5 separate regions of the Homo sapiens genome follow, and all the other regions are linked to region 1. Evidence: promoter capture Hi-C in 16 types of primary human blood cells and fetal thymus (Javierre and others, 2016). All regions are on one chromosome and are shown on one strand. Each heading gives the region's core, a stretch centred on a gene start or on the middle of the fragment in contact. The rest is flanking DNA. Distances are from core to core; before and after follow the strand shown.

Region 1 (4,887 bases), core at 1,902-4,401:
CAGCCTTACCAACATGTTGAAACCCTATCTCTACTAAAAATACAAAAAAAAAAAAAAAAAAAATTAGCTGGGCATGGTGGCACACACCTGTAGTCCCAGCTACTCGGGAGGCTGAGGAATGAGAGTTGCTTGAACCCAGGAGGCAGTTGTTGCAGTGAGCCAAGATCACGCCACTGCACCCCACCTTGGGTGACATGGTAAGACTCTGTCTCAAAACAAAACAAACAAAAAACAAAAAACAAAAAAGAAATCTTAGGAAGCATTCCTCAGTTGAAAAATAAGATAAACCATTCTGTTCCATCCCTAAAGAAACTGAAAAAAGTCAAGACTGAATTTACTGCTGAAGCTAATGTCAAGATTTTCAGGTTCATCAACTCAGTCTTTGTTTCTTAAACTTCACACTTACAGTGCAGTACTTAAAATGTAAAAATGCACTTGTATTGTTTATATGGTTATTATTGAAATAAAACATCCAGGTCACTTATTTTGGCTTTGTTTAATAAAACAACAGAAACATCTGTCATTTTTTATAATAATTCTGTTGTCCTACTCACTGGGTGGCAAAAATGCACTCCCACTGCCTTGCATTGACCTGCCAATCTGGAGGCGATTCACTCCCCACTGACAGCCAAGTTTCACTGAGTTTTGGTCAAATAGAACAATTAAATCATCCTTTGGTTTTCCAAGCAGCTAAAATAATTTGAGAAAATAAAAACAAGCCATCTTTTAAACAAAAATGCATTACCTCCCAAAATGAAAAATTCATTTATCTCCGAATTGTCACCAGTAAGTTTTAAGGTTATAGCAAGCCACACCATGCAGTTCTTGTATAAGATGAATAAAATATTCCTGACTAATAACTCAATTCTAATTTTAAACAAATGCATTCAAACTGAGTTGAATACTTAGTTTGTATCACTCCCACAGTGTAAAAACCTTGCTTGGTTCTGATGTCGTTGACTGCTGGCCATAGACGATGAGGTCTCAATCTTACTAAGAGATTAAGGTTGGATGACAGTACCTTATCTCTCTGACAATGTATCCAACTCAAAGAGATAGCCTAGCTGGGCATTCAATTTCAGCGTTTTCCACTGTATATTAGGAAATGGGGACCTCGTCTAAGTTTCTGTTTGTTTTACTTTGTTTTTGCCGAGCAGGAATTAGCTGAACCCTGTTGGCAGCTCCTCCAGAAGCCCACGTGGGGTGGACCCAGCGACCACTTCCCATAAGACTACAGGCTCATCTACTGTTCTCTGGAATAAGGTTTCCTGGAGTACAAGTTCCAGTCTGTCCCTTGGTTTTGCCAAAGACAGATCCGCCTACTGACTATTCTCTGCTGTAATGACAACTGTGCTCTAAGACAAACAACTTATTCTTAGTGGAAAACAATTAATTTCAGCCATCACATGTGTTCCTCAACAGCCATTTATTCACACTGGCCCATCTTCCGGTATCAGACTGATACAAAACCCCCAAAGACTTGCCTGATGACAATTGAATGAGTGTCATGTATTTAACGGCATTTGTACTTTATTGCATTGCTTCCTGTTTTTTTTTTTTTTTAAGATGGGGAAATCTTTATAAGCAAAAAGATGATTAATTCTTCCCCCTGTCTTTAACGGCCATTCTCTCCCACAATCTCTAGAGAATCTCCAAATCTAAGTTGCGGGGAGGGATGCTGGGGAGCCACACTTTTAAGCAAAGTGTTCCTGAGGTTTTAGCTTAGACATCTACAAAACTGGAAGATTCCGTTTTATGGGGACATACGGACAGAACTCACTCGTTTTAGAACACTACTTAGCCAAACCTCTCAGCGAATCCTATACGGAATAGTCTTTAGCAGTATACATTTTGGAATCTTCTGTGTGCCCCAGAACACACAATATGGATCCAATTAGATTCAGCTGCCTTATGTTACAAACAAACATTGAAAGGGAGAAAACAGAAGTGGGAGTGGGAGCTTTGTTCATCCTCTCCTACGCCCCCGCGACCCCACACTCCCGAGGCGCGCGCATCCTCCCCACTCACTCGGGCAGCACCCACTCCCTAAATAGCCCAGCGTGGCCGGTGCCCCGCGAGCGCTCGGAGCGCTTTTCCGCTGCGGGCTTTTCACCGGATCTGGAAGGGATTTACCGGAGGGACTGGAGCCCAGCGCAGCAACCCCACCCCACCCCCACCGCCCCGGCCCGGGCGCGCCCCGCCCGCTCCCCGGCTCCAGGACTTACACCAGCGCCGACGGACAGGGCATCTGGTTCCAGGCACAGTTGTACTGAGCCTGAATAAAACTCTCACTTCCCTCCAGCACGGAGCAGCTCACATTCTTGTTCACGATGTAGGCGCACCAGTTCCTGGGGTGCAGGAGAGAGAGGGAGAGGGGCACGGGGTAAACCCGGAGAACAATGAGGCCAGGGGAGAGGGGACTGCGGCACCAGACCGAGCGAGGGTCGGGGGGGCCCGTCGCCCTCTGCGGAGGCGGGAGCTTCACCGAGCAGACGCCGGAGGGTGCCCGGGTGCGCCTCTGGAGAGCGCGCGCCTGGACCCGACCAAGACGGGAAAGAAAAGCACCCATGGTCCCAGGGGCTCATGGAATTCCTGGGAGTCGTTTTCGGATCGCCCGGGTCTGCGGGACGCTCTCTGCGCCCACGCCCCCGGAGTCAGCTCTGCCTGAGGCGCCGGCTGCGGAGCGCGCGGTCCCCCGCAGAGGGAGCCGCCCGGGGAAGTCCAAGGGAGGCCCCCGGCTGCCGCTCGTCGTCTTTGGCAGGGCAGCTCTGGGGCTCAACTGGGGGCCGGGGAGGGGTAGGCGGTTTGGGGCCAGCCAAGGGGCGCGCACTTACTTGTTCCTGGCGCTGGGCCGCGCGGGATACCCGGGCTGCGGGCCGGCGTGGCACAGCCCCGCGCCAACCAGGGCCAGCAGCGCCAGCGCCCAGCGCCAGGGCACGCGGGGCCAGGGCCGTCTGGGCTGCCACATCCCGCGCGCAGCGGGCGCGCCCCGCCTGCCCGGGTCCGGAGCGCGGCGGATCGGGGCACCGGCCACAAGGCTGCCGGCGGCCAGGGCGCCGCCCGCGAAGGCAAGAGGCTCGGGCGCTTCGCGGCGCTCCAACCAGTGCTCCGCGGCCGCCCCCTCCGGCTTCTCGTTCCTACTTCTCCTTCTGCAGCCCCGTGCGCCCTGCGCTTCTCCCCGGTCCCTCAATGACGCACAGGTCCCCCCGGGTGCCGCCCTCTTTATTTCACTTCCCTCTCCGAAACGTGACTCTCCCCCCACCAAGTCTCCCCGTCTCCAGTCCCTTCGCTTCTCGGCAGGGGGCTCGGGGTGGAGGGGCGAAAGGGTTTGGGATAAGGGTCTACGTTACAGCATTTCCAATGACTCATTCCTTTGGTCTCTTCCCAGATGCCGAGCGACTCCGCCTCCCACCTTCCGACAGGCTCGCTCCCGGCCCCCCGGGACGCGGCCGCCGTCGGCGAGTCTGGCCGTCCTCGCGTCGTGCCTGGGTGCCAGCCTCCCGGGGCGAATGAGGGACATGTTTATCAGTCCCGCGGGGAGAGGAGTGGGGGCTCGACTCGAATTTCCTCCTCGGGCAAGACAGGGCCGTTCCCCCACCAGCTCCATGGACCTAGAGAGTCCAGGAGGAAACGAACGCTGGTTCTTTCTTTGCCCAACTCTGCCTTAGGCACCATCTGACAGTTTCCGAGGCCACGCGGGGGGCGGCAGGACAGGACAAGCCACAGCCCCGCCAATTCCCAGAGGCTGCTGCAGCTCAGCGTCCGGCTCTATCACTTACTGCAATTCTCCTCCAATTCTTGAAAGGTGATCTCACAGCCTCTGCTTCTGAGGTCCCACTGTGAACTTTCTTTTTCTATTGAAACTAAGGCATTTACTCACGTTTGCTTCTTAACAGTTCAGGCACTGCTAGACATCCGTCTTAAACTTTCTTGTATGTTTTCTGCCTGTTGTTGAGTTACACTAATCTCTACCGATGTCTTTTTGGGATGAAGTACCAGAATGTTAAGTAAAATCACCACCCAAGTGTTGTATTCTAAGGGGTGTTGGAGAGAGCTGTGTGTTTGAGATGACCTGCTGCATCTAATCAATGTACAGGGTCGTGAGTGGCGTGGTTACCAGACTCCACAGATAAAACTGTGGCCTCTGTGAGCTAACCAGACGCTGTTGGCCATGACTCGTTAAGTGAATAAAGCTTTGCTATGGGCCAGGCGGGGTGGCTCACGCCTGTAATCCCAGCACTTTGGGAGGTCGAGGCGGGTGGATCACCTGACGTCGGGAGTTCAAGACCAGCCTGACCAACATGGAGAAACCCCGTCTCTACTAAAAGTACAAAAAAAAAAAAAAAATTTGCCGGGCACGGTGGCACATGCCTGTAATCCCAGCTACTTGGGAGGCTGAGGCAGGAGAATCGCTTGAACCAGAGAGATGGAGGTTGCAGTGAGCCGGGATCTCACCACTGCACTCCAGCCTGGGCAAAAAGAGTGAAAATCTGTCGCAAAAAATAAAAAATAAAAACGTTTGCTATGTTCCTACTTTACTAAATGAAGCCATTGGTCTATTTTGTTTCTAATATTCTTTGATGGTGTTGTTGGACCTTTTGATTTGCAGATGAAAGAAAGAGAAGTCCCTAAGTAGAAACTACAAGGGCCAAGCAGAACATTATACCATGTAAGGACATCATCTGTCCCTGGACTCTTAAGCGGAAGATCATGCAAATAGTGGACTGAAGTCATCCCAGCCTTCAAAAGAGCCACCGTGGGGGGGAAATAACAGAAAGGGATAAAAAGCTGTCTTTCGTAACCCAATCTGTATCTTTCTGTGTGACTTCCCTATCCTGCCTGTCCTAACACCATCTTGGCCGTAAAGACTCATAGAGTAGAAACAGA
Region 2 (4,590 bases), core at 1,338-3,837, 130 kb before region 1:
TCTTCTGTGATCATAAACAAGAATTTTTGTAAGCTTGAAGTATGTGGGGAAAATATAAATTGTATGAACTTCTTTAATCCAGAGTTTTCTCTCTTGTTACAAAATATAACTTAGAACAAGTTATGTAAGCTTAGTGTAAGTCCCAGAAATCTGCATTAAAGAAACAAAATCAAGTGACTTGAGGACAGTGTAACTCTACCTGTGGAAGCTTTCCTTTAAAAATAATAGGAAGGAAACACTATTTTCAAGGTTATTTTTTAAAATTAAGGATGGATATTTTTATGAAAACAAGCATAAAATCAGTGAGACAAAAATTAGTTTCTAAAATCTGTGGCTCATAACTTGATTTTAGTTTTAAGGTTATACAAATGTTTATTATCTTTAAAAATGTTATCACACTCTGCTTTTTGCTTTTGGATCTGTTAGTGAAAGTGTACTTACTCAGAGTTCTCAGGAACTAATGGAAAGACGTGGTTTGAATATGAATGGAAGAGTCAGGTGCTACCACGGGGGAGGCAGTTTGCTTTTGAAATCAACATTGTAATATTATAGAATGTATACACATATTGGCTCACTCACATTTGTTGTAAAGGTCAGAAGGGAGAATAGAGAACCTTGCTGACTTTTTACGAAATACTTTAAACATTCATATATTAAGTAGCACTAACACACATAAACTCTCCCTCACAGGAAGTTCTTAAGACTTGTGTCTGCTGGTGTTTTCCAGAAAGAGGTCAAGAGGTGTTTGCTTAGGCTGCATTTTATTAACGGTCCCATTTTATGTTGCCGTTAGAACATTGAAGTCTAATGAGTCACCTCCCTGTCCCATGAGAAGCATGAGTTTTCTTAATGCTAACGTTTGGGATAAGGATCTGATATCTGCTTAGTAGCCTGTAATGATTATATAGGAGTTTGACTTTATAACCTGGGTGTGTGTGGTTAGAGGGAGAACCCTGGTTTTCAGGGTCCAGGCCTTCTGTGACCTGAACACTCCTTACAAATCACATCCTTTCTGGGCACCCCTTTTGTAAGGTGACAGTTTCAGTTTTGAAAGAGTCTTTCCTCATGGTTTTGTGATTTGGGAATATAAATGTATCATATCATGATTTGGAAAACCATGAGAAGATTTCTGTGCTTTGTTAGAAATTGGGAAATTTCAAAGACCATGTTTTCATATTTTTTGAAACAAGTGAAGACAATACCTTTATTTGCTAAGGAAAAAGCTAAATTATTTTATATTCAAATAACCTGAAGTCCCAGAATAATCTACTGGCCATATTTTCACCCCATTTAGGGCAGAATATACTACAGGAGTTCTTAGCCAAACTTGTAATCCTCAGAAATGCTTATAGAATTGGAGCTTTTCTGCAGTTTAGAGCTGGGGGGGGACTCTAGAGGTCACCTGACCATTCTTGTTAGAGAGAACCCCCGGCACAGAGCCCAGACCTCTTCTCCAGCGGAAGCGAGACTTGATCTTGAGTCTTCACATCCTCACCAGCTTCAGGGGACTCCAGGAAGCCCTGAGGGCAGTGTCCCTCAATTCTCATCTCTGTGAGCTATTTATCAAAGGACATGGGCACCTCTGGTTGATGCCAAAAAGCTCAACCAGATTTAATAACACAAACAGTGGTCAGAGGTGGCAAGTCACCCTGTAGGTGGGGCACATGATACGAGGCAGCGTGCATCATGCTAAGTTAGGAAACCTTAGTCCACCCAGGATTTGGGGTGGGGCTGAGGTTGGTGGTGGGGAACCATAACACGTTGTCATTACTGATTGCTGCCCAGATTCCTAGAACAACTGGAGGTGAACAAGTCTAAAACTAACTGTGTTCCTCCAGTCTAGCATGGCCAGTGTTCAAAAAAGTAATTATTTAATTGAGTGGAATTTTATTTCCTCATAGAAATAATGTTGCTATGCCTGTCTCATAATTAGCCAGAGAACTCAACCAGAGTTCTGAGTCCTAGAACAAGGGGGAAGAAGGGCTAATGCAAGAATTTCCTCTTTCTTTCTGGATAAGGGCCAAGTTTCGCTAAAATTTTTGAGACAAACATTTTCTGAGTTCCATTTTCAAGCCATGTTTTAGCTCCCACTCTCCATAGCTAGTAACTTTGGGCTTGAAAATGATACCTTTCCTCCCTCCTAACTCCCCTAAGTTTTAGGAGTGTTTGTGCTCTTGCCACTGAGCTGTGAATGGGTGATGGTTCCTTAAGCGCAGCAGAAGTAGCTGCATTGGAGGAAGAGGATTCTAGTAAACCTACAGGTGTGCTTTGGTAGGCTCACTAGCCAAGTGACAGTGTGCACTGAAATGAAAACTCTGAGGCCTGCTAAGAGGATATATTGAGGGACCATACAAGATTACTGGTTAGGCAGTTTGGGGGAGTAAATTCTCTGAAAGTCTTTGTTTTCAAAGCATGCTCGCCACAGATGAACTCAGGAATTTGGGGGGGAGTAGTTTTGGGACTGTGGACATGAATATGTTTCGGCTATTTGAAAATTATTTATTATTCATTTTTATATTTGTGCCCCCATCTGTTTTCAGTAAGGAAGGATTTAGAAGTAGTTTACAATTAAAACATACATGCACACAGACTGCCTCCACACACACTGTATATTGCATAGCTAAGCCTATTAATGTAGAGGAAACAAAATTGTCTTCATTTAGCAAATATTTATTGTACTACAACTGAGTCCAGTAGATGCATGTAAATCAATTTTTTTTTGTTTGCCTCCACTAATATGTCGGAATTTTTTGCTGCTCTGGGTTTATGAATAACACAGCTGGGCAGATATCCAGCAAATGGCTGTATGAATGCTACCATGTTGAGTTTGCCTGGATACTTGGTCCTGATTACATACTCAGCATACTCAGTGCGTTAGAGTGCCTGGTGAGCCCTGTTTTGTAGATGTGATCCAGGTGTAGTCTTCGTGCATTGGGAAAACACACCTTAGTTACATCACTGTGCCTTTAGGTGTCCCAAAAAGTGAGGCTGCTGGCCTGGCCTAGAGGAGATGGACACAACTCTGAAAGGATCTAAATAAAAATCTCAGTTGGGCATGGTGGCTCACACCTGTAATCCTGCACTTTGGGAGGCCCAGGCAGGTAGATCACTTGAGGCCAGGAAGTGAGGCAGGAAAGGAACAGGAACTACTACACCACCCTTCTTCAGCTCTGTTCACTGTCAAGAAAACAAGAGGGTTTGGGAGTCATTCCACCTACCTGTGGTCCTGAGGCACAGCTTGAGATGTGCTACATTCTGGGATCATTTGGAGGCTTTCAAAAGTACTTGCAGTAGAATCTGCAGATGGGGTGGCCTGATCATGAGGATTCCCCAAGCACCTCAGTGACTGCAACGTGCACCGGGGGTGAGAAGTGAGCCCCAAGGACGATGATGCCCACATCTGACTCATCACTGAGTGAATCCCTGTGGAGCTTTCAAAAGAAAATACAGATTTCCCAGACAGACTGAAGCAGAATTGAAGGCAGTAGTGGAGGCCAAGAATAACTGTTTTGTTTTGTTTTGAAAATGAAACTACAGACTTTATTCAGATTCTTCTTACTAATGTCCTTTTTCTGTTCCAGAGCCCAACCTTACCTTGAATTGTCCTGTCTCCTTAGTCTCTTCCAATCGTGACAGTTCTTTAGTCTTTGCTTCTCATGACCTTGATGTTTTGATGAGCACTGGTCAGATATTTTGTTGAATTTGTCTCTACTTCGGTTTGTCTGATGTTGTCTCATAATTAGATTGAGGTTGTGTGTTTTTGGTCAAAATACCTCAAAAGTCCTTTTCAGTGAGTCATACCAGGAGTCCCTGAGGTCAGTGTGTCTTAAGTTTTCCCGATCACTTGATTATGGTGGTGTCTTCCAGGTTTCTCTACTATAGAGTTAAAATTTTTTCCTTTTGTAATGAATGTGTATCTTGGGGAAAATACTTTGAGAATATCCAGACATCTTGTTTATCTTGTTTCTCCTTCAACTTTTTTTTTTATTTTTTATTTTTTAAAAGACAGAGTCTTGCTCTGTCGCCCAGGCTGGAGTGCAGTGGCGCAGTCTTGGCTCACTTCAGCCTCCGCCTCCTGACTTCAAGCAGTTCTCCTGCCTCAGCCTCCTGAGTAGCTGGGACTACAGGTGCCACCACTCCCGGCTTCTTTTTGTGTTTTTAGTAGAGATGGTTTCATCATGTTGATCAGGCTGGTCTTGAACTCTTGACCTCAGGTGATCCACCTTCCTTGGCCTCCCAAAGTGCTGGGATTACAGGTGTAAACCACCGAGCCCGGCCTCTCCTCAAACTTTGTCTTCTGTTTTTAACATCCATTGATGGATCTTGCCTTCCATAAATAATACTGTGATATATTCCAATAGTGAGTTTCTAGTTTCTTCATTTTTTCTTCATTAATTATAATTCATCTGTAAGAGCTGTCATTTCTCACTTATATATTAATTTATTCTATCAGTGAGGACTCAAGAATATTTTATTCAGCTAATTGTAATCTAGTAATCCTGTTTTGTTGCTCAGATTGTCCTGTGTTTAGCTCTTGGGAGTATACTCCTGTTTTTTCTCTGACATACGTTTGCTCTTTTGATTTTGAGC
Region 3 (4,455 bases), core at 1,399-3,898, 160 kb after region 1:
ATGCTACAACATGGATGATCCTCGAAAATTATGCTAAGTGAAATAAGTCACACATGACAAATACTGTATAATGACAAATACTGTATAATTCCACTTAAATAAGGTACCTTGATTAGGTAAATTCATTGAAACAGAAAGTACAATAATGGTTACCAGGGGCTAAGAGTGGGAGCAACAGGGAGTTACTGTCTAATGGGTAAAGCTTCAATTTGGGGGTACAGGGTAAAAAAACTTTAGGAATACATAGTAATAATAGTTGTAAAAGACTGTGACTGTAATTAATGTCATGGAATTATATACTTTAAAATGGTTATAACTGCAAATTTTATGTTATTTATATCTTACCACAATTTTTTAAAAGAGAACTGCTTTAAAAAGGGACAGAATAGGCCAGGTGCGGTGGCTCACGCCTGTAATCCCAGCACTTTGGGAGGCCGAGGTGGGCGGATCACGAGGTCAGGAGATCAAGACCATCCTGGCTAACACGGAGAAACCCCATCTCTACTAAAAATACAAAAAATTAGCCGGGCGTGGTGGCGGGCGCCTGTAGTCCCAGCTACTCGGGAGGCTGAGGCCGGAGAATGGCGTGAACCCGGGAGGCAGAGTTTGCAGTGAGCCGAGATAGCACCACTGCAGTCCGGCCTGGGCAAAAGAACGAGACTCGTCTCAAAAAAAAAAAAAAAAGAAAAAAATAAGGGACAGAACAGAACAGTGTGCTGTTGGAAAACAGGGCAGACGTGTATAGTTTAGCAAGAAATGTCAGGAAGTTGAGAAGAAGCCTTTTTACATTAAGGAGAGAGGCAAATGAATATTTAAAGCTAAATAACAATACTGTACTTTGACATTTATGCCAAAGTAAAATGTACAAAAACAAAAGTACAAAGACCAAGATAGCATAAACGGAAGTATACTGTTGTGATGTATTTATATGCGAAGTGGTTTAGTATTACTTAATACAGACTGTGATAAATTAAAGATTTATACTATGAATCCTAGAGTTTCCAGTAAAGTAACAGCTATAGTTAATAAGCCAAAAAGGAAATAAAATGGAATCACACACACACACACACACACACACACACACACTGAATCTGCAATAAGGCAGGAAAAAAAAGAAAATGGGAACAAAAAATAGGCAGGAAAAATAAAAAATTAACAAAGATGGTAAACTTAAATCTAAACATATCAATAATCCAATTAAAAGCAACTGATCTAAACACTCCAATTAAAAGGCAGAGATTGTTAAATATTAAGACACAAATATCTATAGCGTAAAAGAAACCCTCTTTAAATATAAAGAGACAATAGGTTAAGAGGTTGGAAAAACATTTACCATTTTAACACTAATGAAAAGAAAGCTAGAATGAATATATTAACACCAGAGAAAGTCAATAAAAGATACCAGGAAATGAACAAAGAACAATTAAAACAAATAAATGGGTAAACAGATGATCACTCTTTGTATTATTACATTTAATTACATTATGGATGTAATAATATCCAGTATTATTTTCCTTTCTGGATAACGTAATAATATCCAGTATTGTTTTCCTTTCTGAAGATCTTTCTAAACATTCTTTTATAACTTGAGTCTGTTCTTGGTGAATTTTCTTCAGATTTTGTATGTCTGACAGGATCTCTCTCTTCCCCGCAAACTCCAAAGATAGTCTTGCTGAGCATCTAGTTTGAGCTTGACTTTCAAAAAATTTAAGTACAAGTTGAGCATCTCAAATTCAAAAATACAAAATCTGAAATGCTCATTATACATTTAATTACATTAAATGTAATAATACAAAGACGCTAAATGAAATTGTAAGTGTGGTTATAAAACATGAACCAACTATATGTTGTCTATAAGAAACCCATTTCATATATAATAATAAAGGTACATTAAAAGAAAATGGATGAAAAAAGATATAGCATGAAAACACAAATGAAAAGAAGCTGGGATGGCTACACTAACAGAAAAAGTACACTTCAAAGCAAAGAAAATAACCAGTGACAAAGAGCAACACTACATAATGAATAAAAGGGTTGGTCAACCAAGAAGGCACAGAAGGCATAACAATCCTTGGAGACTTCAATACCCCCTAGTTACTACCACACAGAAAATCCAGCAAGGATATAAAGAAATGAATAATATCATCAACCAGTAGAATCTAACTGACATTTTCAGAACACTTCTCCCAACAAGAGCAAAATACACCTTCTTTTCAAAGACACATAGAAAATTCATCTAGATAGATAACATCCTGGATCATAAAACGCAACAAATGTAAAACAGCTGAAATCACTTAAGAGTACATTCTCTAGCTATCACGAAATTACACTTGAAATCAATAGAAAGACAATAGGAAAATATGTTGGAACACTTATAAATTCACACACTTTTAAAACAATCCACAGGTTAAATACCAAGTTGCAAAGGAAAAAAGTAGACTAAACTGAATGAAACAGAAAATACAGTGTAACAAAACTTGTGAGATGCTGCAACTTATTTCCTAGAATTATGATTAACCAAAGTCTATGAGCTAATGTTTATTAAGAAAAAAAAAAGTAAATGAGTTCTAAGTATTCAGTTACTATGGCAATACTTCTAGGAAATAAGTTGAAAATACTCTCTGATATTTTCCTTAAAATATTTCTGGGAAAATATACAAAAGTTTAGAGAAAGGAGAAGCTCACTGATAAAACACAACATACATACATCAGGTCATGCAAAACTAAAGAATTCTCTCCACTAGTTAGAAATGCACAAAATCATAAATCCCTTTTTCAACTTAAATGACCCATGCAAACCAAATCTAGGCAACAACTCTATCACAGCAAGTAAGGCTGAGAATATTTATTTCAAGACAGTCTCAGACTTGTGTTAATGAGTCTAGAAAAATTCCTATATCCACTCAAGGACTATATAAATATCCCTTCATGAATATAAATAAAAGTAGAAAACTACAAGTTCAAGGAACAGTTTTACACCACAGCAGTCCTCTGGAGAATTAGGAAATTAATCTCCTTCAGGAATAAATTTACATCAAAGTCCAAAAATATTTCAGAAAATATCTTAATTCATAATCTTCATACAATGAAAGGACACTTAATCTTTGGGAAATTTTGATGGAAACAAAACATAAGAGGTGTCTCAAGTAAGAAAAAGTATCAGGGGGCCGGGCGCGGTGGCTCACGCCCATAATCCCAGCACTTTGGGAGGCTGAGGTGGGTGTATCACCTGAGGTCAGGAGTTCAAGACTAGCCTGGCCAACATAGTGAAACCTCACCTCTACTAAAAGTACAAAATTTTTCAGGAGTGGTGGTGTGCATCTATAATCCCAGCTACTTGGGTGGCTGAGGCAGGACTGCTTGAACCTGGGAGGCAGGGTTGCAGTGAGCTGAAATCACGCCACTGCACTCCAGCCTGGGGCTGAGAGGTGGGACTCTGTCTCAAAAAAGAAAAAGGAAAAAAAAAAAAAAAGAAGAAGAAAGAAAAGAAAAAGTTATCAGCGAAGAGGATCAAATTAGTAAAAGAAACTATCTAAATGATTGCCAGGAAGCCAGGGTAGAGTAACTACGTATGTATATGTCTCACTATCTTGAATCTAACAAAGGAGGAAAAAAAAAACACCAAACTTAAGAAAACTCCACCTCTAACAAAACTGGCCACCAATCTCTATCAGAGCCTCTAGAATAAATGTGCCAGACATATGGAAATGACCAAATTAAAGTAGGGTGCTTAGATGTTACAAACGTATTCCCAACATTCAAGTAAACACAAATATTAGAAAACAAAAGCTCATCTTAATTTGCTGAAAACCAACAAAGACAAACCAGCTTTTTCTTTAGGAATATTAGGAAAAATCTTGTTGGGGATCCATTTCTACAGCTTAAAATACATACGGCATGGGTCATGTAGCATTTTTACTTATTCATATTTCAACAAAATGGCTCTGAGTTGAGAGCCTTTTAATTGATGGGCAAGTTGAAAGTGCAGAAAGAGTAGCGCTGACCCAACACATACCTGAATCCAGCTGACCTAACTAATGTCATACCTCTCCCCTACAAAATAATTATACACATACTATTATAATTATGTCCCAGGTATCCAAGTTAAATTCTAAAGCAATAATTCTTATAGTGCCCAAGTTATGAGAGAATTTTCTAGGTTTATGTAATGTTATATATCCTTTTTTTTTTTTTTTTTTTGAGAGATAGGATCTCACTCAGTCGCCCAGGCTGGAGTGCAGTGGCGTGATCATGGATTACTGCGGCCTCGACCTCCTAGTCTCAAGCGATCCTCTCATCTTAGCCTCCTGAGAAGCTGGGGCTAAAGGTGCAAGCCACAACACCTGGCTAATTTTCCTTTTTTTTTTTTTTTTTGAGATGGGGTCTCATTCTGTCACCCAGGCTGGAGTACAGCGGCGCAATCTCGGCTCATTGCATCCTCCACCTCCCAGGTTC
Region 4 (4,769 bases), core at 608-3,107, 150 kb before region 1:
TTTGAGAAGTCTCAAGTCTTTTTAATTTCTCTCTCTCTCCCTCCCTCTCCCCCCTCTTTTTCCCCATTTTCCTATCCTTTCCCCCCTACCCATTTTTTTTAGCACCTTTCTTTGTTTCTTTTTAAAGTATCTCATTACCATCTCTTGATGAAGCACCTTGGTTTGGGATTTGCCATCTCAGTTTTTGGACGAGACACAGTCTCTTAGGAGGGAACACGGGAAGTACCCACCTTACCTGGCTTCACAGTGAATCCTTACCCCTGGCCTTGTTTCGTTACTTAGACCTGGCTAGCAGGCCCTATGTCACCAGAGTCTCCGCAGGCCAGAGGGCATAAAAACACCCAGAGACTGTAGTGGGTATTTATCAATCCTGGTGAGGCCTCTCCCCACAGGTAGAATCATCTGTAGCTGTGTACACTCATGATGTTGGGGAAGTAGCTGGCACTACGTGCCGTACATCTGATGGAGGGCATGGTGTGTATCCTGCTTTGTGTAGTCGTGCCCATATGGTGATTTTGGAATCCTTTGTGTAGCCTTTAACGTTGTCTATTATTAGCATGTTTCTGTCGTGACTGCCATAGGTGGAGCCCACAACAGTGCAGGTGTTTCTTTATCCTTTGAGCTGGGCACCTGGTGGGAACTTTCAATTTGGAAAATCATGTTTCTGACGCCAGGAAATTTCTTGTATGATTTATTTGATAATATCCAACTCCTGCCTTTCCCTACCTTTTTTTCCTCTCCTGTTTCTGTACTTTAAAAAGTCTACAAGTCAGATATTGGGGCCATTTTGGATTGATGCTCTGATATTCATCTTTTTCCTCCTTTTGCCCATTCCTTTATCCTTGTTGGATTTACTGGGAGATCTGCTTTCTACATTTTCTCCTTCTCCTCCTCCTCCTCCTCCTCCTTCTTCCCCTCCTTCCCCTCTTTCCCCTCTTCCTCCTTCTCCTCTTCCTCCTCCTCCTCCTCTTCTTCTTTTTAAAAGAAAAAAAAAAACAAAACAGAGATAGGGTCTCACTAATGTTGCCCAAGTTGGTCTTGAACTTCCAGCCTTAAGTGATCCTCCCACCTCAGCCTCCTGAAGTGCTGGGATTACAGGTGAGACCCACCGTGCCTGGCTATTTTTTAATTTTTGTAGAGACAGGGTCTTGCTGTGTTTCCCAGGCTGGTATTTATTCTCCAACCCTTCTATAGAATGTCTTAATTTTACAATTGTGTGTTAATTTCCAAGAGCGCTTTCTCATTCTTGGATGTTTATTTTTATTAGCGTCCTCTCCTAGCTGCTGGTGGGTTGCTGGCAGCCTTTGGCGTTCCTTGGCTTGCAGATGCATCACCCCAATCTCTGCCTTTATATTCACATGGCGTTCTTCTGTGTGCATGTCTGTCTCTCTGTCCAGATTTCCTCTTTTTTTTTTTTCTTTTTGAGACGGAGTTTCTCTCTGTCACCCAGGCTGGAGTGCAGTGGCGTGATCTTGGCTCACTGCAAGCTCCGCCTCCCGGGCCATGCCATTCTCCTGCCTCAGCCTCCTGAGTAGCTGGGACTACAGGCGCCTGCAACCGCGCCCGGCTAATTTTTTTTTTTTTTTGTATTTTTAGTAGAGACGGGGTTTCACCATGTTAGCCAGAATGGTCTCGATCTCCTGACCTCGTGATCCGCCCGCTTTGGCCTCCCAGAGTGCTGGGATTACAGGCGTGGGCCACGGCGCCTGGACCAGATTTCCTCTTTTTATAAGGACATCAGTCCTACTGGATTAGGGCCAGCCTTAATGACCTCGTTTTAACTTGAATACCTCTGTAAAGATCCCCTTTCCAAATAAGGTCACATTCTGAGCTACCAGAGGTTAGGAGTTCAGCGTTTCTTTTTTGGAGGATATACTTCAACCCAAACAGTGGGTTTTGAGAGTGGGGATAACACATGTGACATCCTCTGGGTTTAACAGGATGTCTAGTTAGAGCAATATTTTTAAAGATGCTTTTAGTTACACCTATCTTCACTAATGATCAGAAAGAAACTCTTAGGAAGTAATTTTTAGATTACAACTGGAGATTTTTGTTCAGACTTGTGACTGCCAAAATTTCTGCATGTTCCTGAATGTTTAATGACAGTATCTGAGTTGTCTCATTTTCACTCTTGGTTTGTTTCTAAAGTCATTTGAAGGTTGGCAAAATGACTAAAGAAAGAACAGCAGTAGTGTCTTATGAGAAAGTAAACCGTATCTATATCCTGGCATAGTTTCGTGAACATGTTAGCCAGGTTCTCATCATGCTCTGTCCCTCCATGTTATACTCTATTTCTTTTTTCAGATATGAGCCTTCTTGGAGCTTTGTTGCTTAAAAAAAAATCTGTCATGTATTTTCCTGTTCTGGGCTCTACAACGCTTTTCTTTCCTTAAAAGTGGCTCTTCCTGCTCTTCCTCCCTCTCTTCAGGGAGCAGCACCCTCTTTTATTTCCTTTATAATAGTTGTCCCAGCCTAACATATGTTGTTGTTGTTGTTTTCTCCCTCCCCACATTAGAATATAACCACTACAAGGGCAGGTACCTTGTCAGCCAAGTTCACTGCTTGATCCCCAGCTCTCAGAATAGAATAGACACTGCTGTTGAGCAGATCAGTGAGTGAAAGAGGCCTTGTTTTCTGACTTTCAAGTGCTGTTTCGCTGACTTGCTGTTGCTCTTGGAAGTCCTTCTCTCTTGTTGAAGTAGCTTAGTATGCAAGTCAGCTTGTGATAACACACTGGTGCAGCCTTACTTGGCATTTGTTTTGCAAAACTACTTAAAAATAGCCTAAATCTGAGTGATTGGTGGCATTGATTGCAGCAGTGCTGTTGGTATGGCCACAGCCTTTCCCTTTACCCAAGTGTCCTCCCAGAGCCAGGAAAGGGAGGTACCTCTCCTTACGTTTCTGAAGATTCCATTGTGGTCCCAGTGGGCACCATGCAGAATTTAATAAAGCAGGGCATGAAACTTGAGCTGTGTTTTGATTGACATTGGGAAAGACTCCTCTGCAGAACACAGGCACAGGGTGCCTGGAGCTGCCTGGCACTGGAAACTCTGCCTCACGGTCACCATGTTCTGTTTAACTGAGACAAGGAGACACTTCAGGCACTTCCAAAGGAAACAGTAGGGAAGTAGTGAATTCATGCTTACCGATCTAGCAGACTTCCCTCTGGGAAGCTGGGGGACTGCATCCTTGAGAGCTAAAAGCAAGAAATTGGAGATGTTTGAAAAACTAAGTCTGTGGCATGGGGGGTAAGGAATCCTCCTGCTACTTCTGTGACATCAGCTAAGTAAGCTGATGAATTGGTGACTTTTTGTTTCTTTTTGAGTTATACTGCTTTTAGTAATTATGGAAGAGCCTGCTCTCCCCCCACAGGAGTCATTAAACAATGATTGATGCCATATGTAAGGTTTGTGAATTGTTTATGCAGCAGAAGTCACCTTTTGATCAGAATTGGGGCACTGTCTTGGTTTCATTGTGGCACACTGCAGAGTTATAGGCATAGTGGCCTGGTACTCTGATGATGTCTTGAAAGTGACTGCTATAGCTTTGACTTCATTAATGTTCCTTTGAATTTGTTATGTTTAGAAAAATACAAGCCTCTGCCAGGTGCAGTGGCTCATGCTTGTAATCCCAGCACTTTGGGAGGCTGAGGAGGGTGGATCACATGAGGTCAGGAGTTCAAGACCAGCCTGGCCAACAGAGTAAAACCCCATCTCTACTAAAAAAAAACAAAAAACAAAAATGAGTCCAGGCACAGTGGCTCAAGCCTGTAATCCCAGTACTTTGGGACACCAAGGCCGGCGGATCACCTGAGGTCAGGAGTTTGAGACCAGCCTAGCCAACATGGCAAAACCCCGTTTCTACTAAAAATACAAAAATTAGCCAGGCGTGGGGGTGGGTACCTGTAATCCTAGCTACTCGGGAGGCTGAAGCAGGAGAATTGCTTGAATCCGGGAGGTGGAGGTTGCAATGAGCCGAGATCACGCCACCGCACTCCAGCCTGGGTGAGGGAGTGAGACTCTGTCTCAAAAGAAAAAGAAAAATACAAGCCTCCAAAAATGAAATGTACATATTTATGATGTGTTGATTCTGGCACCTCTTATGCAGAAGTTTACCATTAGCAAATATAGCAAACTTGGTGCCATTGGCAAGGCCTTTGTAGAACCAAATGATGCTTTATTTGGAGATGGTGGGATGTGGGTCTGTTATTCTGGGATATATATGATACTCAATAGATAGATAAAGATATTGGTCGAGCGTGGTGGCTCACGCCTGTAATCCCAGCACTTTGGAAGGCCGAGGTGGGTGGATCATGACGTCAGGAGATCGAGACCATCCTGGCTAACACGGTGAAACCCCGTCTCTACTAAAAATACAAAAAATTAGCCAGGCGTGATGGTGGGCACCTGTAGTCCCAGCTACTCGGGAGGCTGAGGCAGGAGAATGGCATGAACCTGGGAGCCGGAGCTTGCAGTGAGCTGAGATGGCGCCACTGCACTCCAGCCTGGGTGACAGAGAGAGACTCTGTCTCAAAAAAAAAAAAAAAAAAAAAAAAAAAAGATATTTTCCTGGGAGGTAAGCATGTAGTCATATCTTTTCTGCAACGTCACCATGCCTGTTGAAATGGAGAGGTTGGATGATGTAATTGATGGACATTATAAAAGAACCAATGTAACACTTTTATTTTTGGGATGAAGTCTTGCACTGTCACCAGGCTGGACTGCAGTGGTGCGATCTCGGCTCACTGCAACCTCCCACTCCCGGGTTCA
Region 5 (4,868 bases), core at 584-3,083, 150 kb after region 1:
GATAACGAAAAAAGGTTGAGAAACACTGCTATGCAAAATGTACTTTTCTTTTTAATTTTCTCTTTTATATATAGAGCCTATCCAAAAAATAAACTCATAAAACTGAAGTGTTTTCTAATAATACTTAAGAAGATGTGTTTTTGCCAACCATTCTTCACCCTGTTGGGAGAGAATACAGAAATCTGTATTCAAGCATAAGGTGCTATACACTTGTTTGATGCCTGCCTCTAGGGCAATGAGGAGGTAAGACAATCTCCCCATTACATGCTTTCGCAGAGGACAGTCTGTAAAGTTACAGAACTCCATTCCTTCTTACGTACCTTATACCATAATATACCATTTCCAAAGGAAAGTAAGGCAAAATTAAAAATAATTTCAGCCTAAGTTTTTGATGCTTGCTGTCAAGAAGGATACTATCTTAGTTATTAATAAATTTGATTTTTTTAAAGTTATATGAATGAAAAAGGAAATATATATACATGGTAAAGACTCACAGGTCCAATATGGTATACAGTTTCTGGGAAATTGCTGCCACACTTACTCCTATAACTAGGTACCAACTCTTTCCCAAATCAGCAAATCATTGTTGTCAGTTTGCCAGCTGACATGGAGATTAAATTAGTAACTAGGAACCAGAAAGTCTGACAACCAAAATGTTAAACTACCCTTCTAAAACTCTCAGGATGGATTCACTATCAACCAAACAAATTACCAAATGCATTAATTCCAGACACTCAGTAACAGTCAAAGTACAATTCAGAAGGCATGTCAAGGTGACAGGTAACCTAGGGGAAAAGTATGCAGATATTCACTTTATAATATTCTTTCAACTTTTCTGTGTATTTGAACATTTCCTTCTTTTTTTTTTTTTTTTAAATACAGAAGGTGTCTCACTGTATTGCACACGCTGGTCTTGAACTCCTGGCCTCAAGCCATCCTCCTGCCTCAGCCTCTCAAGTAGCCAAGATTACAGGTGTGAACCATTATGCGCAGCTTGAATGTTTCAAAATTAGAAAATATATATTTTAAAAGTACAGTGTAACAAAGGAATAGAATTAACTTATTCTGGATAGCTTTTGAAAACACCCACTGCTCAATAAATGTTGGATAACTAACACCATATTATAAATGAATTCTAAGTGTATTATAAAGGAGTAGTAACTCATTTTGATAAGGTCTTTCTCGGTGTATAATTCTTAAAAGTGTCCTAATCTTCTATGATTCACAAGCTTTATAAGAGCAAAATTAATTTCAACATCTTACAGGACTGACTGACTACAAATACTATGTACTATGCACTGTATTTATTGCCCAGCAATAAATTGATAATAAAATCATCTATTTCTTGGCAATTCAACATTAAACTACTGAAAGAGTAGTATCAAAAGTCTCTGAGGTCTGTTCACAGAATACAAGTACACTAGTATACTAGTTTCACTCAACTTTGTAACAAATTTCAAAGTGAAATCATTCTTGTTGTATTAATCAATACATGTATTTTAATACTGATCAATCTCAAATCACCTTTTAGCTCAAAGTACTTCACAGTTTTACCCCATTTTTACCCTCAAGACTAGCTAAAAATTGCACAACTAGGTTATTAATATACAAATATAGCCCTTAAAGCAAATACAATTGTTCATACATGTTCTCATTAAGATGCTTCTGTGGCTTCTACTATGTCAAGGGCTAGATATTAAGATCTTGGCTGGGTGCGATGGCTCATGCCTGTAATCCCAACATTTTGGGAGACCAAGGCAAGTCGATCACCTGAGGTCAGGAGTTCGAGACCAGCCAGGCCAACATGGTGAAACCCCATCTCTACTAAAAATACAAAAATTAGCCAGGCGTGGTGGCACGCACCTGTAGTCCCAGTTATTTGGGAGGCTGAGGCGGGAGAATAGCTTGAACCTGGGAGGCAGAGGTTGCAGTGAGCTGAGATTGAGCCACTGCAATCCAGCCTGGGAAACAGAGTGAAACTCCTGTCTTAAAAAAAAAAAAACAAAAAAAACTAATGAAGATATGTAAATTCTATCCAAACCTAGTCTTTACTAGGTAGGTTTAGTCATTACTAAAAAATTAGCTTTAAATTTTTTAGTAATGTGAACACTTGACTGCTCATAAAAAAATTTATACATCATAGTCTTTTGATGCAAAATATCAATAAAAACCTACACTGCTAGTGTCTTCTTTTACTTAAAAATAAAACATTTGCAAATATTCACAACTTTATATTTAAAAATCATACCTGTCCATTTAAAATCCTTGTAAAAAGGGTGTTCTTATCTTTCAATTTTAGCTCAAGATCCATAAACGTCAATTTATTTGTGCTGACCTGGAATTTGTCATTAGTGAATAATGCACCAGATATCCTATTGTAGCATTCAATTGGTGCAAGCCCTCTCTTCTTAGGAGGAGTACACCAGTCAAAGCTTGAACAGAACAAAATGTTAGTTAGTAAAAGAATTAAGTTGTAAAAACATAATTTCAGCAAAAATCAAACTTACTCTTCAACTGATGTATATGGTATTAATCGTCCATTCCAAAAACATTCAAAAATAGGCCTTTTCCCTCTAGCTGCTTTCTCAAGTATGAAACAATCATCTTCATCATCTTCATCTTTTAATTCTAGATCAAAAGGGCAAATGGAACAAAATGTTTATTGCTAAAATGTGAGAAATAATGAAACAAACACATAAATGTTTCAAATTGCATTCTATAAAACCTAAAGGTAGTTTTATACTGTTTGCCCACAAAAAGGTAGGTTTACAAAGTGGTTCCACATTACGAATGCTGTCTGTCATTTAGAAGTCAATAATTACTTATATATGAACCAATGTACTAGCTGCTGGGCCTGTCATCTTTAAAACCTATTCATGAGGCTAAAAGAGTCTTACATCCAAAAAGATTATCCCCTATAACAAAATCCCTCCTTCCTACAAATATAGGAGCTTAAATCCCGTATCTAAAACAGTTTCACAATTTTATCAGAACTAGTATGTTCACATGAAAGTCATCTGAGAAATCTATGACATCTAATAGCAGCGAGTTTACCTAGTTTGAACAAATTAGTGAATGATGCTAAAATTAAGTTTACTTTTTAGAAATTATTTTCAGATTCAAGTAAGCATGAAAAATGTACACAGAACTGTAAGACATGTTACTATGCATCAAGAGCATTAATTTGCACAATTGTCTATAATCTTATGTTTATTAGCAACACACTCTCGTGTATCCAGATAAATTAGGATTAAACAATGTGATCCTGACATATTAACACCTCAGCTACCCTGGAATTAGTTTACCCACCTAAAACAAAACCTTCTCCCTAAAAGCCCTCACAAGAAGTCCCTTATATAAAAGCTGCTTTCAATCAAACAAAATCACTTTGCTCTTAGAGGAGAATCCCTCTGATTGATCACTCAACTTACTTGCTCTTCTTTTTAAGGCAGCATTTGAAAAAAATTATATCTTTTTGTCTATTAGCACACAAAAATTGGAAACAGCAAATTTAAGAGGTCAGAGATGGCCAGGCACAGGGGCTTACGCCTGTAATCCTAGCACTTTGGGAAGCTGAGGTGGGAGGATTACCTGAGCTCAGAAGTTTGAGACTACCCTTGGCAACATGACAAAACCTTGTCTCTAATAAAATACAAAAAATTAGCCTGGCATGGTGGTGGGCACCTGTAGTCCCAGTTACTCAGGAGGCTGATCCATGAGAATTGCTTGAACCTGGGAGGCAGAGACTGCAGTGAGCCTACATTGTGTCACTGCACTCCAGCGTGTGTGGCAACGCAAGACTTTTGTCTCCAAAAAATAAAAAACAAAACCAAAAAGGCCAGTGGAGCCACTGAGTAACAATATGTACTGGGCAGGAGCACTTAATAAATAGTGTTGAGCACTATTCTGAGAAGTTGCCCCAGTTTTTAAATTTGATCTTCACAACACCCCTATGAGGTGTGAACTACCCATTTCCCAGGTAAGGAAACTAAGGCAGGGAGTAGTTTGTCCAACAGAAAGTGGCAAAGATGGGATTCGAATCAGGATCTCTGGTTGCAGGCCCTAGAAAACCAAGAATGTACTAAGGAAGTATTCTGAATGAAAAAGTTTAATATTGTTAACCTATAAATTCAATGCAATCCCAATAATCTCACTAGAATTACTTCAAGTGAATGTACAAAGCTGATTCCAAAATTATCTAGAAGAGCAAAAGTATTCTCAAAAAGGAACAATAGTGAAAATGTTTTTTCCCAAAGATACCAAATTACAAGATAAAGCTACAAGACAGTATCATTACTCATATTAAAAAAAAATAAAATAGTACTTTATAGTAAAGAATCTAGACCTATGTACTTATGGGAACTTTGTATTATACAAGTTCTAACTCTTGGGTAAATTATAACATTCAATAACTGGTGCTAAGAAACTGAATATGAATACCACATAGAAAATAATTGTTAAATCCCTATCTCTCTACTGGGGGGGGAAAAAAAGGTGGGGGCCAGGTGTGGTGGCTCACACCTGTAATCCTAGTACTTTGGGAGGCCAAGGCAGGAGGATTGTTTCAGGCCAGGATCTTAAGACCAGCCTGGGCAACACGGCAAGACCCCATCACTCAAAAATTTAAATAAATAAATAAAACCCCACCTTGCTCTACATACAAAAAAGAAAAACACAGATGCATTGACCATAAAATGACAACAAAAACAAAAAAGCTACAGATTTATATAATTTTGAGATGTAAAAAGCCTTTCTACAGTAAGACAAAATCAGAAAGCATAAAGAAAAAGTTAGTAAATATGACTGCATAAAGTGTAAAACTGCAACAAGGATAAAGAGAAGACAAGGGAACATATAAAGGATTAATA

What was found. The method cuts DNA at HindIII sites, captures the fragments that hold promoters and counts their contacts. A CHiCAGO score of 5 or more calls a contact.
Region 2: a contact is called between a fragment that was not itself captured here and the fragment with the promoter of EMILIN2 in region 1, in 2 of 17 cell types (monocytes and M2 macrophages). The highest score is 8.6, in monocytes.
Region 3: a fragment that was not itself captured here is called in contact with the fragment with the promoter of EMILIN2 in region 1 in 1 of 17 cell types (monocytes); the score reaches 10.2 in monocytes.
Region 4: a fragment that was not itself captured here is called in contact with the fragment with the promoter of EMILIN2 in region 1 in 1 of 17 cell types (monocytes); the score reaches 6.9 in monocytes.
Region 5: a contact is called between a fragment that was not itself captured here and the fragment with the promoter of EMILIN2 in region 1, in 1 of 17 cell types (monocytes). The highest score is 8.7, in monocytes.

Annotation. Positions count from the first base shown.
Region 1 is chr18:2,845,270-2,850,156 of GRCh38, reverse strand. EMILIN2 (elastin microfibril interfacer 2) reads right to left here and starts at 3,151. Exons shown (of 8, transcript NM_032048.3): 1 at 2,835-3,151; 2 at 2,226-2,348. The coding sequence starts at 2,968. RefSeq lists silencers at 2,174-2,263, 2,884-2,933. The HindIII fragment of the contact is 11,570 bases long and covers 1-4,195 here.
Region 2 is chr18:2,977,599-2,982,188 of GRCh38, reverse strand. The region is part of intron 1 of LPIN2 (lipin 2); the gene reads left to right. It overlaps LOC124904236 (a long non-coding RNA gene), which reads right to left and starts at 3,834. Exons shown (of 2, transcript XR_007066268.1): 1 at 3,219-3,834. The HindIII fragment of the contact is 4,754 bases long and covers 211-4,590 here.
Region 3 is chr18:2,681,332-2,685,786 of GRCh38, reverse strand. All of the region lies in intron 5 of SMCHD1 (structural maintenance of chromosomes flexible hinge domain containing 1), which reads right to left. Among named protein-coding and RNA genes, the nearest start is that of SMCHD1, 28 kb to the right of the region's middle. The HindIII fragment of the contact is 4,888 bases long and covers 205-4,455 here.
Region 4 is chr18:2,996,258-3,001,026 of GRCh38, reverse strand. The region is part of intron 1 of LPIN2 (lipin 2); the gene reads left to right. Among named protein-coding and RNA genes, the nearest start is that of LPIN2, 15 kb to the left of the region's middle. RefSeq lists enhancers at 1,159-2,081, 2,196-2,295, 2,563-2,712, 2,783-2,882. The HindIII fragment of the contact is 6,417 bases long and covers 1-4,769 here.
Region 5 is chr18:2,698,299-2,703,166 of GRCh38, reverse strand. It overlaps SMCHD1 (structural maintenance of chromosomes flexible hinge domain containing 1), which reads right to left. Exons shown (of 48, transcript NM_015295.3): 11 at 2,508-2,628; 12 at 2,249-2,432. Among named protein-coding and RNA genes, the nearest start is that of SMCHD1, 45 kb to the right of the region's middle. The HindIII fragment of the contact is 1,203 bases long and covers 1,232-2,434 here.